Regions from separate parts of the Homo sapiens genome. Here regions 1 and 2 are each linked to region 3. Evidence: promoter capture Hi-C in 16 types of primary human blood cells and fetal thymus (Javierre and others, 2016). All regions are on one chromosome and are shown on one strand. Each heading gives the region's core, a stretch centred on a gene start or on the middle of the fragment in contact. The rest is flanking DNA. Distances are from core to core; before and after follow the strand shown. Region 1 overlaps NKD1 (NKD inhibitor of Wnt signaling pathway 1). Region 2 overlaps NKD1 (NKD inhibitor of Wnt signaling pathway 1). Region 3 holds the start of TENT4B (terminal nucleotidyltransferase 4B).

The links. The method cuts DNA at HindIII sites, captures the fragments that hold promoters and counts their contacts. A CHiCAGO score of 5 or more calls a contact.
Region 1: a contact is called between a fragment that was not itself captured here and the fragment with the promoter of TENT4B in region 3, in 4 of 17 cell types (total B cells, neutrophils, total CD8 T cells and 1 more). The highest score is 6.5, in total B cells.
Region 2: a contact is called between a fragment that was not itself captured here and the fragment with the promoter of TENT4B in region 3, in 1 of 17 cell types (naive B cells). The highest score is 6.7, in naive B cells.

The regions. Positions count from the first base shown.
Region 1 is chr16:50,644,967-50,649,546 of GRCh38, forward strand. It overlaps NKD1 (NKD inhibitor of Wnt signaling pathway 1), which reads left to right. Exons shown (of 10, transcript NM_033119.5): 10 at 1-4,283. Among named protein-coding and RNA genes, the nearest start is that of NKD1-AS1, 34 kb to the left of the region's middle. RefSeq lists an enhancer at 1,596-2,114. The HindIII fragment of the contact is 3,232 bases long and covers 1,256-4,487 here.
Region 2 is chr16:50,561,854-50,566,965 of GRCh38, forward strand. All of the region lies in intron 3 of NKD1 (NKD inhibitor of Wnt signaling pathway 1), which reads left to right. Among named protein-coding and RNA genes, the nearest start is that of NKD1, 16 kb to the left of the region's middle. The HindIII fragment of the contact is 4,288 bases long and covers 675-4,962 here.
Region 3 is chr16:50,151,450-50,156,148 of GRCh38, forward strand. TENT4B (terminal nucleotidyltransferase 4B) reads left to right here and starts at 1,857. Exons shown (of 12, transcript NM_001365324.3): 1 at 1,857-2,810. The coding sequence starts at 2,173. It also overlaps the pseudogene RPL10P14 and the pseudogene LOC124900375. RefSeq lists enhancers at 913-1,870, 3,508-3,557, 4,417-4,476 and silencers at 1,097-1,186, 1,407-1,576, 1,687-1,846, 2,077-2,176, 2,357-2,406 and 1 more. The HindIII fragment of the contact is 13,709 bases long and covers 1-3,805 here.

The DNA of each region.
Region 1 (4,580 bases), core at 1,622-4,121, 490 kb after region 3:
TGCCAAAACTGAGCTTCTGGGCAAGACGTGGGCAGAGCAAAGAGAGACCCACACTTGGCACTTCCTGCCCAGAAAGGACCTGCTCAGGCCTGGCTGGCCTTTACCACCGTCATCTCCAGGCTTTCTGTTCATCCGTACTTTCAAAGATTTAGTGATCAAGTACTATGTGTCAGGAACCATGCTCAGCACTCGATAAAACAGACATCATCTCTACCTACCTTTGTGGAGCTTTAATCTAGTGTGGGGGACGGGGGGACTGCTTCCACCCAGAAACGACATTTTTATCCACTGCGATAACTTCTGGGGAGACATGGGAGGGAATAACAGAGGGGACATGATGGAGATGGGGGACTGCAGAGGGACTCTCCAGGAAGCCACATTTAGGGGGTGACCTCAAGGGTGAGGAAGAATTAGCCAGGTGGAAAGTTAGAGGGAGCAGCTGGTACAAGGGCCTCAAGGGTGGATGGAGGGTGAACGCTTGATGAACTGGTGCAGGCCTGTATGGCCGGGTACAGCTGGCAACGAGGAGGCCCGGTATGGGCAGAATCTGGGGGCCTGAATGGTGGAGAGTCTGCTTGTCACCCCAAGAGACACATCAGGAAGCTAGGTGGTCAGTCGGGAGAGAGAGGATGTGACACTCTAGCCACCACCACGCAGAGAAGGGATTGGAAACAGTAGCCCGGAGAGGAGGCTCTCTTGGTAGGATCCCACGGCAACCGAATGGATGCACGTTGTTTATGACGTTCTTACCCATGAAAGCGCTCAAGGATCCGCTTGCTTGCTTACATGTGGGATCAGCACTACCTTCCGTGCTGCCGAACATCTTCTTAAGCGAGGGAAAGAACAAAAAGAAAAGTTGGCAAGAAAGAAAGGGCAAAGACAGAGAGACTGGGAGAGAAAGAGGCCCCAATTTCCTCTCTCTGGTAGTTGCTGAATTGGCTCTCGTGAAGGCAGAAAGGGAAGGGCTGACTTATGTCCCTCTGCCAGGAGAGGGGAAAGGAGGGAGGCATGATATTGACTTAAACGTGGGGGATTTAAAAGGCCCCTATGTTCCCACTTTGTGCTTTGCTTCTAACAGACAGCCTGGGACCTTTGAAGTCGGTCTGGCCCAGTGGGGAGCGGGCTTCTGTGGAGACAAGATGCTAACGGGGGCGGGGGAAGGGGGCCAGGGGGCGGCCGAAACTCTATTAGGCATGCTCTAGCAAAAAGAAAGGCAAATCCAATGATAATGTACATCTGTTTCAGGGAATTTATAAGCTTTGAACATTTTTTATGGGCAGATAAGTGGGTCCTTTTCTTACCATAACTTAGAACTTCAAAGCTGAGTGTGTGGATAATGCAAATTGCTGAAATATGAGATTTTCCCTACAAAGAGGTTTCCAAAAAAGACGAGGAAGAAAAAGAGGGGGGGGGGAGAGAGAACGAAGGCTAACTGATGCCACAGTCTTTTATGTACATGGCAAAAACGGGACAGAAATTGATTTTTATGAAAGAAGAAATTGATGGGAGACATGGCGTGGGGAGGAGGCGGCCTTGTGGCAGGTGCTGGGAGGCAGGGACTGGGGCCGGGCGGGTCCACCCAGGCTGTGGGTCAGCCCTGCAGGGTTGAGCTGCCTGGCTGTGGCTCAGGCCCTGGGGACACAGTGCCCTCCCTCTAGGAGCCTTAATGGGGAAAACAAGAACACTGTCACTCGTAATGGGCATGAAAGGACACTTCAGAGCCAGCCAAGGCAGTGTCAGCCCAGAACAACACCCTGGAACACCCAAGGGGGCTCCAAGGCAGGATGGGACCCCCTGGTTTGGGAAAATCAGAAAAGGCCTCCTGGAGGAGAGGGGCTCTAGGGGGCAGGTATGATCCTGAAGGGAAGACAGTGGGGTGGGACATTTCAGATGGCAAAACAGCTGGGTCAGGATATCCCCAGGGTCATGCCTCTGCCACCCAGACCCCACCACATTCAGCCCTCTGTGCTTTTCTTGTCTCCCACATCCCCAGCCCCAGTAACTAGCAGGGACACAGTCAACATTCAATATGTGCATGTTGAATGAATGAATGAATGAATGTGAGATCGTGAGAACACACAGCTGGTTGGCAAGCAGCATCAACCAGCTCTTTCTTTTCACTATATTACATATCTACAGTGGTAGAGTCATACTAGAAGACATGATGGGATGGTGGTGTGGTCTCTGTAGTTGACCCCATCATCCTTTCTGTCCATAGGTGATTCGTCTAAGCCAGACATGGCAAAGTCCTCACCTTTGCCAGTGACTGATTCAGGAAAGATCATGTGTGACCTTATTCTGGGCAATGAGATCTGAAGGGAAGTCTGTTGAGGAACTTGTAACATGTCATGGTAGTGGCCATCTTGCTACAGCCTGAGGACCACAGAGCACACACAGAGAGTGCTGGGTCCTTGGGAATGATGTTGAGCAAGCACTTATACATGACCTGGCAGCCACCCAGCATCTGTACTTTAGTTATTTGGTTTTTCTCAGGAGGAGATCCTGAGATGAAGACTCAGGAGCAGGTTGTTGATTTTGAGGTGGTCCTGGGAAAGACAGGGAGGAGAGTGGGGAAGTGAGGCAGAAAAGGAAGGGAAGTTCCACTCCAGGAGCCCACGTGGAACATACCTCAGAGTTATCCCACCTGCACAGGGAGGGAGCTGAGGTATTTACCCACCCATCCTTGTCAGTCATTGGTCAAGGGCTATTTCTGTGCATAGGCATAGGCTTCAGCAGAATTGCAGGTACTGGCAGTCGGAAATTGGACCAGCAAACAGAAATGATTCCTACAGGGGATACAAGCCAGGCACAGGCAGTGTCTGTTACTTGGGGTTCCTGTTGCTTAGAGTTGAAAGCATCATAACCCATCCCAGGTGATCATAGAAGGACCTCAAAGGAAAAGGTGAGGGGTTTGGACATTTCCTGAGAATCCATGGGGGAACCATTCAGGGTTTGGGGCAGGTGTCAACCACAAGAACATTAAACAGGCTCTTTTGGCAGCAAAGTTGGGAGTGGTGTTGAAGTAACTGGGAAAACTCCACAGAGGCTCAGCGTCCACCTCTACCTGACACCCTGCCAGCAACCTGGGTGATTTCCGCAGGTGTCTGAACCCCGATCTCTCAGTGTTATGGCCCCCACCACCAGGAAGGCCTCCTTTTCTCTCTTCTATAGCCACTCACTCCTGGGCCCCACTGTGAACCCAGAAATGCCACACCATGGAAGCCACACACTCTGCTGTCTCCTTCTGTCCTCATTCCTGTCCTTCTCACAGTCAGTCCCTCTTGGCTCTTCCTAGAGTCCCTTTCATTCCCTCATTTCCACTTCCTGCCGCTGTACTGTCACCTGTGGCCTGGATTTGCACTCTTGGTCCAACACCCTCAACTCCAACACCTCTGTCTTTCTGCCCCATCCACTAGACAAAAGCTGACTCTGGAAAACATTAGGCACTCAGAATCAAGGGTTCTGGGGTCAGATGGATAATTGCCATCATCCTCACCAAGTTGCCACTGGACTTTCTTGCCCCTAAATCCACTGGGCATTTCATTGCTACCTTTCTTGACTTCTTGATTGTTTTTGTGATACTGACACATCCCCCCTTTCAGAACACCCTCTGCCCTTGGATTCTGTGCACAGGAAGCTAGTTGCTCCCCTGAATACACTCTTTCTTCCTTGTAATACAGCCTCTGATTTTGAGCCCAAGAATAAAGACTACAGTTCTCAGACTCCTTCGCAAATAAATTTTGTGACTAAACTCTAGTCAACAGTAAGTGTCATGTAGCAGCTCCTGGGAATCTCCTTTAAAAAGAGAGCTTGTTTATACCTATTGTCATCTCTGTTCTTCTGTGCCCCTTCTTCCATTTTGCTGCCTGGAAAGCAGATGTGATGGCTGGAATTCCAGTCACCATTTTGGACCATGAGGACAACACCCTAGAGATGTGGAGTGGCTAAAAGAAGCCTGTGTTCCTGAGAACTTAGAGGACCAGGACCTCTATTCCAGGCTTGGACACCTACATTTAGACTATTATATGAGGAAGCAATCAACTTCTCACTTGTTTCAACCACTTTCACTTGCAGTCAAACCTGAATTGTAAGTGAAATTGCTTTCCTGATAGCAAACCTGTTGGATTTTCTCCAGAATCCCTGGGCCACTTTTAGCAGTCAGATTCGTCTAATCCTCCTTTAAAGATGGTGGCAGTGAAACTGGTACATGGGACCTGACTGGGCTTTGTTTGCAACTTTCTGATAATTTATAATTATTTCAAAATAAAAAAATTTTAAAAATAGTGGCGTTGCTCAGATCTCAGTGCTGGCTGCCTGGCCTTCTCCGTGGACTCACTTCTTGGGATCTCGTCCACTGCCATGACTGTCTCTAGGTTGCTGCCAACGAGTCCCAACTACATGCCTCAAAACAAACTCATCATCTTACCCCAAAACCTGCTCCTAGCTCAGCAGATGGCAAGACAATCCAACAAGTAACCCAGACCAGAAGCTTGGGTGCCATCCTTGACTCCTCTTTCCCTCATCACTCCAGTTACTGAGACCTTTTCCACTCTACCCATCCCCTCCATACCCTAGCAGAG
Region 2 (5,112 bases), core at 1,569-4,068, 410 kb after region 3:
GAGAGTAGGTGGTCTCTTGCAGAGAGAGTGGAGTTATAGAAAAGGACTGAGACGTGTCCCTTGGGTTTAGGATCCTGGCGGTCACAGTTGGGTCTGGCAGGAACTGTCTTGGTGAAGTGACAGCAGAGGTGAGACTTGGGTGGCTCACGAAGGGACTAAGAAATATGTGCAGGGGAGCAGAAGCACATACTTACAAGAACATTCATGGCTGCATTTGGAAGAATGAAAAGTTTTTGACAACTCAAACATCCATCACTAGGGTACAAGGTAACAGTGGTGTGGACTTCTCATTGAGCTCTCTGCAACTGGTCAAAGCCCAGCGAGTAAGGGCCTCTCTTGCTGACAGGAAAGAGACCCTGAGACGCTGCTGAATGAGCAAAGCAACTGCAAAACATTCATAGGCCATGGTCCTGTTTCTTACAGTGTGAAAAAGTCTATTCAGGCCTGTGTCACTGTGTATCTGCAGGTGCATAGAGAAAGATCTGGAAGGGTACACTGTCAAGGACTATTTCCCTGAGGAATGGAGAATTTTGCTTTTCATTTTGTACATTTTTAGGTTGTTTGATTTTACAAAAAATGAGCATGTGCTACTTTTTGTATTTTTCAAAAAGGTGATGTATTTTAAAAGTGAATGACAGATGAGGAAACAGCATGTGTAGGCAACTGTATGGAGAAGCTTTATCAGAAGGAGTGGAGAGAGAAGACAGCAGCCAGAGGGTGTGGAGTTGGGGAGACTCGATGCGGCCGAGGACCACCTACATCTGAATCTCTTGGGTGCTATTCAAAATGTAGACTCCTTGGGGTTTCCTGAGCCTGAGTCAGAACCTTTCTGTACTAGGCAACAGCTGGGCCGACTGGACCCTGAAGGAAAGGAGAGAGGAGGGTGCAGGAGTTGGAGAGGGATGAGGGGGGAGGAGGGCACTCCCCATTTGTAGTGTAGCGGGACCTAATGAGCGACCCTACAGAGAAGCCAGTGCAGGCCCTCACTCATGACAAGCTCTCGCTCCATGGTTCTCTCTCCTCTTCCCACATCCCCATAACTGTGGCTGCTTAAACTTGCAAGCGGATTTAGAGCTACCCTGGCAGTCACTGACACCTGCCTCTCTTGAAAGGGCTGCTAGGTCCCACCACCACCCCCCCCCCCCGCCGTAGAATGGGTAGAAGAAGGGGCTGTAGAAGTGACCTCTAGACTGTGCTGACCAGTAGAACTTTCTGATGATGGAAATGTTCTGTGTCTGCATTGTCCCCTCTGGGAACCTGTGGCTTAGAATGTGACCACTGGGACTCAGAGACTGCCTAAATTTTAAGATATATTTTATTTGAATGAATTTAAATGTGAACTTAAATAGCCCCATGAGGCTAGTGGCTACCTCATTGGACAGCACAGCCCTGGACGCATGGAGAAGATCCTGTGTGTCAGGCTAAACTCCATCCTCAGTGGGCACAGTCCTGGACCCATGGAGAAGACCCTGTGTGTCAGGCTAAACTCCATCCTCAATGGGCACAGCCCTAGATGCATGGAGAAGACCCTGTGTGTCAGGCTAAACTCCATCCTCAGTGGGCACAGCCCTGGACCCATGGAGAAGACCCTGTGTGTCAGGCTAAACTCCATCCTCAGTGGGCGCAGCCCTGGACCCATGGAGAAGACCTTGTGTGTCAGGCTAAACTCCATCCTCAATGGGCACAGCCCTGGACCCATGGAGAAGACCCTGTGTGTCAGGCTAAACTCCATCCTCAGTGGGCACAGCCCTGGATGCATGGAGAAGACCCTGTGTGTCAGGCTAAACTCCATCCTCAGTGGGCAAGCCCTGGATGCATGGAGAAGACCCTGTGTGTCAGGCTAAACTCCATCCTCAGTGGGCACAGCCCTGGATGCATGGAGAAGACCCTGTGTGTCAGGCTAAGCTCCATCCTCAGTGGGCACAGCCCTGGATGCATGGAGAAGACCCTGTGTGTCAGGCTAAACTCCATCCTCAGTGGGCACAGCCCTGGATTCATGGAGAAGACCCTGTGTGTCAGGCTAAACTCCATCCTCAGTGGGCACAGCCCTGGATGCATGGAGAAGACCCTGTGTGTCAGGCTAAACTCCATCCTCAGTGGGCACAGCCCTGGATGCATGGAGAAGACCCTGTGTGTCAGGCTAAACTCCATCCTCAGTGGGCAGGGAGGCGTCAAAGGAGTGCAAAGGAGTGATTCACAGCAGGTGGTCATGGAAAGAAAGCTCTCCCCCACAGGAAGTACTGGTTAACCGTCTTTGGGGCCTGTCCAGAGCCCCCTTCCTTGTAACATAGCTGTGTTCAGGCTTGGTTAGCCCTGGCTGGCCGCAGCCATGGCCATGGTGGGGAATGATCATGGTCTTCCTTCTAGATGGTTGGATCAGAGCACCTTCTTGTGATGTCACAAATCGGGGCCTTTCTAGCCTTCTTAACCTTGGAGGTTCTGCTCAGCAGCTGCTACTGGCGTCTCGTCCTCTTGGCTCTGGGTCTGGGGCACTGGAAGGTAAACTCCCTGCTGAGTTGGAGGCAGCAGCATTGAGTGGGTGGCTGTTTTCCAGCCAGGATTTACCCAGGGCTTTATGGCTTGCAAAGCCTTCCTCACAGGGCTTTGTCAGGCATTTAATATTCACAAAAATGTGGCCAGGATCAAAATTATTATTATGGGGAAACTGAGGCCAGACTGTAAAGTCCACAGGTCAGGTTCTTTGTGGCTCACTCTTGTATCCCTGGGCCTTTTGCACTGATTGGCACATGGCAGATCCTCAAGAACATTTTCCAGGTGGATGAGGTTCAGAGGGGCCATGCAGCTTGGCCAGAGGGCACACAGCCAGAGAGGCAGGGATTCTGTTCTGTTCTGTCCAAGTCCCCACCTCTTTTATGGAGCCAGGCTGTTCTGTGTCTTTGAAGAGAGCCTCTGCCCTTCAGAAAGGGTCCTCACCTTTTTCCTTTCTGTAAATTAAGTCGTACGCATGGTTAAAAAAAAAAGAAAAGAAAATCCAAAATAGTACTGAAGGTATGCAGTACACAGGAAGCCTCCGCCCACCTCCACCTCCCAGCTTCCCCCTTTGGAGGTATCTGCTGTAGTGGGCTCCTCAAGATACTTCTAGCCATGCTCTGTTTGTGCATGCTTATCCCTGCACAGACAGCAGAAGCTGTCTTGGCCAACAAGACCAGGAAGCATTGGTATTTGCAGGTTAATTGAAAAATTCATTTAAGGTGGAGAACCATAAAAAAGTGATATAGAGGCTGGGTGTGGTGGCTCATGCCTGTAATCCCAGCACTTTGGGAGGCCAAGGTGGGCGGATCACAAGGTCAGGAGATCGAGACTATCCTGGCTAACATGGTGAAACCCCGTGTTTCCTTCACTAAAAATACAAAAAATTACCCAGGTGTGGGCCTGTAGTCCCAGCTACTCAGGAGGCCGAGGCAGGAGAATGGTGTGAACACGGGAGGCAGAGCTTGCAGTGAGCTGAGATTGCACCACTGCACTCCAGTCTGGGCAACAGAGTGAGACTCCGTCTCAAAAAAAAAAAAAAGGTGATATAGAAGCCAGGTGCAGTGGCTCATGCTTGTAATCACAGCACTTTGGGAGGCCAGAGTGGGAGGATTGCTTGAGCCCAGGAGTTTGAGACCAGCCTGGGCAATGTAGCAGGACCCCATCTCTTAAAATAACAACAGTAACAACAAAAAACTAGCCAGGTTTGTGATGTGTGCCTGTAGTCCCAGCTACTTAGGAGGCTGAGGCGGGAGGATGGTTTGGGGCCAGGAGTTCGAGGCTGCAGTGAGCCATGTTTGCACCACTGCACTTCAGCCTGAGCGACAGAGCGAGACCATGTCTCTCAGCAACTACAATGAAAAGTGATACAGACCTTAACTTAAGATTTTCTTTTAACTTAAGATTCATGTATACATCTGTCTCCGCACCTTGCTTTCTTAATACATAACTTTTTAAACTTATCTTGGAAATCATTTCATATCAGAATGTATAATCTTATTGTTCTTCATGGCTATCAAGCCTTCTGTTATAAGGATAGACCATCATTGCATTGATTCCTTACTACTGGGCATTTAGATCATTTGTGGGCTTCTGCCTGTGGTCGACTTTAGAGCAACAGTGTGCATTTCTGCTTCCACCCCTTGCCCTGTGCCCCCGACACACACTGCACATCCTGATATGATCACCAGGTGTGGCTCTGCTATTTTTCTGGCAAAGCTGGAGTTTTTCCTTCTGGCTGGTGTCTACAAAATCGAGGAGGAAAGCAGCTTCAGGGGGAGCTTGTGGTTAAGTAGGTGTGAACTTTCTCTGTGGATCCGTTGGGACCTTTTGGATTTCAAGCCCTTGTCAACTGTTTCATACAGTCAAGTTCTTGGCTTGTGTAACCAGGGAGTGGACTTCAGTTACAGCTGGATCCACCAGCCCAAACTATGTCCCAGGACAGCAATCTGTGTCTTCATCTCTGCTTTCTTTTAGATTGGCTTCATCCTTAGGCACACCCTTCCCAGGTAATGGCAACTTGGCTCCCAGCAGTCCAGACTCCCAGCTTCAGTTGTTAGAGAAGAAAGTTCCAGCAAAAACCCAGGCGGAGCTCCCATTGTTTTGACTTGGGTCACATCCCGGAACCCATCCCTGTGCCTCTGACAGTCCTGGGTCACATGCCTGTCCTGGAGTGGAGGCTGGGATCACCCCCGTCCCCGCATCCCTTGAACCTCCCTAATGAGAAACTGACTTGAGAGGAGAAGGCTGTAGAAAGCACACTGTATGGGTGGAGCCAACAGCTGTGGATGGCCTGGTCCCTGGAATCAGAATCACTGAACAAGGCTCTGGTCAGCAGCTGGCAAGGCTGGGTAAGGACAGGGCAGCTAGGTAGCTGACCATTGACCCACCCATTGCCATTGGATCTTGGAAGAACCTAGGTGGTTTGCCACCTCCTCCATGCAGCCCACCTGGGTTACAGCCTTCCTTTCAAGCTTCTGACCTCTCTATGATGATCATAGGTTGATGATTTTTAACCCTCAAGGAGTGAGTAACAAGACACTTTTGGGAATCCACCAAATCTCTTGTGTCTCTCTCCTTAGATAAATGCTCTTACATCCGTCATTCCAATTTCAGGGCACC
Region 3 (4,699 bases), core at 607-3,106:
TTGAACTTGGCCCTGAGCAGGGATTCAATCACATGCTCCTTATTCTGCAGCTTGTTGCAGATGGACATGATAACTTGGCCAATGTGAACCCTGGCCACAGTGCCCTGGAGCTTTTCAAAGGCACCTCGAATATCTGCCTGGAGCCTACATTGGCGTAGTGCAAGGTCAAAGACATGAACATACATCTGAAAGGCCTGTCTCCATGGTCCCTTAGAGCAGCCCATACAAGAAACAGGCTGCATAAACTACCAAGGAAGCTGTTGTTTGCAGCTGAAGGGTCTTTGTGTGTTTTCCGTATTTCTGGTCGTGCTATTTATTCTCTTACCAAAAAAAAAAAAAAAAGTAAGGTCAGGCGTGGTGGCTCACCCCCTTGTAATCCCAGCAGTTTTGGAGTCTGAGGTAGGAGGATCGCTTAAGTCCAGGAGTTCCAGACCAGCCTGGGCAGCGCAGAGCAACTTCGTCTCTATGCCATGTTGACGCGTGCCTATAGTCCTAGCTACTCGGAGGCTGGGGCAAGAGGATCGCTTGAACCCAAGAGGCCGAGCCTGCAGTGAGCTGTGAATGAGTCACTGAACTCCAGATGACAGAGCAAGAGTTAGTCTCGAAAGAAAGAAAAAGGTAGAGCGACACTTAGTTCTTTGATAGTTTTCCACTATTTGTCATAAAAACTTTCCAGGATATTGAGCTCCCAAAATGGAAGGCCAATATCAGGCATCAGGGACTTGTTCTGGACGTTGGACCAACCTTAAAGGGCCCACATAGAAGCTGTTCACTTACTTTCTTTTAGTCTCTTGATTTAAAATACTTAACATTCCCCTTTCCTTGGCTTTTTAACCACTGAGATTTGAAAGACATGCAAATAACGACCTAGTGGACAATCTTTGCTGATGCTAAATCTTCATTTTAGGATTAAAAGGTTTTGGGTTTTCTTAAAATTTAATGCTGAACTCAGAAGAGCTTTCTAAGGCTGTTGGTGCACCTTAGGGCAGGAGAGCGTCTTTGCTACGCCGCGCAGGAGTGTGTCTGCTTCTCTGTGCATCTACACGTGTTTGCGTGTCCCTGTAAAGTGGGTTGAGTGTGCGGCTGCGGCTTTCCGCCCTTGGCTCACACTCTCAGTCTTAGTGGTCTCCCCCAGGGCTATGCATGGGGTACAGGTTTCTGTGGCCTCAGGCCGGGGTGAGGGGTCCCCCACCCCGGCCAGGGCGCAGCAGGGCGGGGCACACGTAGCCGTGCAGGGTCTCGCGCAGCCCGCGTCAGGACCCCGGGGCACACGCTCGGGCAGGGGGCGTGTCCCCACGCCACCAGAAAAAGTGTTATAGGCTGTTTTTTTTTTTTTTTTTTTTTTTAAAAAGAAAGTGTTTTAGAAAGCAGGCAGAAGCCAAGACGTCAGGAAGGGTTGCGAGGGCCCGGGATCCGGCGGCCACAGGGATGGGAGGGGCGAGGAGCGAGGGGCGGAGTGGCACCTCCCACAACGCGCTCCCTGCGGGGCGGGCGGCAACCTCCATGCGGCCTCGTCCACGCTCAGCACCGGGGAAGCCGAGGCGGAGAAGCCGCGCGCGCCTCAGAAGCTCCCGGACGCCCAGGTACGTGGGAGCACTCCACAGATGGCGCAAGTACGGTTGGGCCAGGCGGTTGCGGCCCCGTCGCGCCGCGGCCTCTGTGACGCACGGCGAGGCCTCCCGGGCTGCTGCGCGGCGCAGCGGGGGCGGGGCGAGCGCGTGAGGGCGGGGCGGTGGGGGGGGGGGGCGGAGCGAGAGGGGCGGAGCCGGCAGAGGCCCCGCCCCGGGGCCGGAGGAGCGAGGACGCTACGGAGCAGGCGCGTCTCGCTGCCGCCGCTGCCGCCGCCGCCGCTCGCTCTTCTGTGGAGCCGCCGCCGCCGCCGCCGCCATTTGCACGGGGACCCCAGTGACAGGGGCTCGGCGGAGGGGCGGAGGGGCGGAGGGAGGGGGGGAGGGCCCGCGGAGCCCCCGAGGGCGGGAGCGACGCCGCCGGCGCCGGCCGGGCTCCCTGCGCGACCGCGCCGCCCGCGGCGGGCCCCGAGCAGCAGCAGCAGCAGCAGCGGCAGCAGCGGCAGCAGCAGCAGCAGCCGAGGCCGGGCGTGCGCCTGAGGCGGCGGCGGCGGCGGCCCTGCGGGCGGCCGGGAGGGGCGGGGGCAGCGGCCGCCGCCGTTTGATGGATCCGAGGATCGCCTGGTTTCAGCCAGAGCAGCTCGGACCGTCCAACAGTCTGTGGATGCAGATCTGGGAGACGACCCAGGGGCTGAGGAACCTCTACTTCAACCACCACTGTCACAGCAGCGGCGGCGCGAGCGGCGGCGGCGGCAGCAGCAGCAGCAGCAGCACGGCCACCGGCGGGAGCGGCAGCAGCACCGGCAGCCCCGGCGGCGCGGCCTCGGCCCCGGCCCCGGCCCCGGCCGGCATGTATCGCTCCGGGGAGCGCCTGCTGGGCAGCCACGCGCTGCCCGCGGAGCAGCGGGACTTCCTGCCCCTAGAGACGACCAACAACAACAACAACCACCACCAGCCCGGGGCCTGGGCCCGCCGGGCGGGCTCCTCGGCGTCCTCGCCTCCCTCGGCGTCCTCGTCCCCGCACCCTTCGGCCGCCGTCCCCGCCGCCGATCCAGCCGATTCGGCCTCGGGCAGCAGCAACAAGAGGAAGCGCGACAACAAGGCCAGCACGTATGGACTCAACTACAGCCTGCTGCAGCCCAGCGGAGGGCGGGCCGCGGGGGGCGGCCGAGCAGACGGCGGCGGGGTCGTGTACAGCGGGACCCCGTGGAAACGGAGGAACTACAACCAGGGAGTCGTGGGGTGAGTGCTGGCTCTGCGGCCCGATGGCCTGGCCGGTGCGAATGCGCAGCCGGGCACACGCCCACAGAGGGGGGTTGTGAGGGTCTAGGAGCGGCCACCCCCACGGCCTGCCTTCGCTGCTGTTGCACGGGGGTGCTGCTGGCCATCCCCAACCCCCCAGTCGTTCACACCTTTCCCCAAGCCTCCTTAGCCGTCCACACCCTCCGTCTCCTGTCCTCCCTTAGTCGTCCACACCTTCCTCCCCTCCCTCTTAACCGTCCACACCTTCCCCAGGCCCCCCCCTTTATCCATTCACTCTCCTCCCATCCCCCTTAGTTAAACACATCTACCCTTGACCACCACCCCGCCTCCAGCCCTCCACACCTTTTTCCCCATCATCACAACTCAAGATGAGACCGCTTAGCACGGGCCTATCATTCATTCCCTGAGAACATTGGTGTGTGAGTGTTTTTTGATGGTGCAGGACCCGGAGGTGCTTTCCTTGCCAAGAATAGAAACATCCAGAATGCTCCTCCCCATCCCCCAATCCCAGACAGCAATTATGTCAGCCCTGTAAGGCATTGCCTGCTCTTGACCCTTTGGCCCATCTTTTTATTTTTAAAAAATTCCCATGTCACAGATGCCCTGTCTATGCAGAGGGTGGCGTGGGATGGGTGACCACTAAGTTTAGGCTGGTGAAGGTGGTGAGCCCTTCTGAGGCCCTGATAGAACTTTCCAGGAGTTCATGGTCCGCGGCTCCAGCTTCTCACTGTAAAGTTGTCATCCTGGCAGAGGCAGCCAATGCTTTTCATTCTAGGGGGTAGAGATTTATGCTAATGAGTGAATATTGCACCACTAGTGACTTTCTGTTTAAAGTTCAGCTCTTAGAAAATGGAATCTTACCTGACCCCTAGTGAATTATGTACATAAGCAGGGAATGTTTCCAACTAGATCTCCCTTCAGAAGAGTCCCTGTGCTGGAATAGGTCACTGAATCTTATTTGTTTTGTAAAACAAAGCTTTTGGGTCTCGTGGGTGTGTGTGTGTGTGTGTGTGTGTGTGTGTGTGTGTGTGTAGCTTGAGTATGGAGAACCGGCTTTCAAATTGCTTTTCATTTTTCAGGTTGTGTTTTACATTGAGGGCTTTAGCATGCAAATGAAATTACCAATTAGTAATCCCATGTGAACCTTTTCCTGGATTTATTCATTCAGATCTGCCCTGCTTTGGCTGAGAGAGAGAGTTCTGTGTACCTTTTTGAAGGTCTGGATAAAATGAGTTGGTGGGTTCCATCTGCTTCCAGTGGGCTGGTGTCTGCTCTATGCTACTATTACAACTCCTACCTTTTGTGGAAAATGCAGTCAAGCGTTCTAGGACTGGTGCTGTGGTACATGTCAAACCTGCCCTCACATTCCAGAAAGGGAACCCTTTTAGGGTTGAGTCCTCTGTTGCTAAGCTTCAAGGGTGCTCTCCATGGTCATCACGTTTTATTAAAGGCTTGTGGTTCCATCCTGTTAGCATTTCCAAGTCTACGCGTAAACCTGTGGTTTAGTGACAAGCAAATTGATGTTGAGGGTTTCTGGTAGTTTCATTTCACAGGAGTAAGCTCCAGTTAGGTAATCACTGTCAACGAAAACCTTGAAGTTCCTTAATTGCATTTTACTGAAGCCTCTTTGCATGTGTCTAGCAAAAGATATAAGTCCAAGATGCTTATTTTTTTTTTGATAAATTAGAAATTGTCCTCTCCTCTACTTGCTATTTAATGCAGAAGATACTCTAAAAGGTTCATATTTATACTTAGAAGCAAGATGTTCTTGTTCCTGATTCAAATATATTGCCCTCAAAGGGATTAGGAGAGGAATTTTCATTTCCCGGAGGGATTACTGTTTAAAAACTGGTTGTAAACCTCTTTAA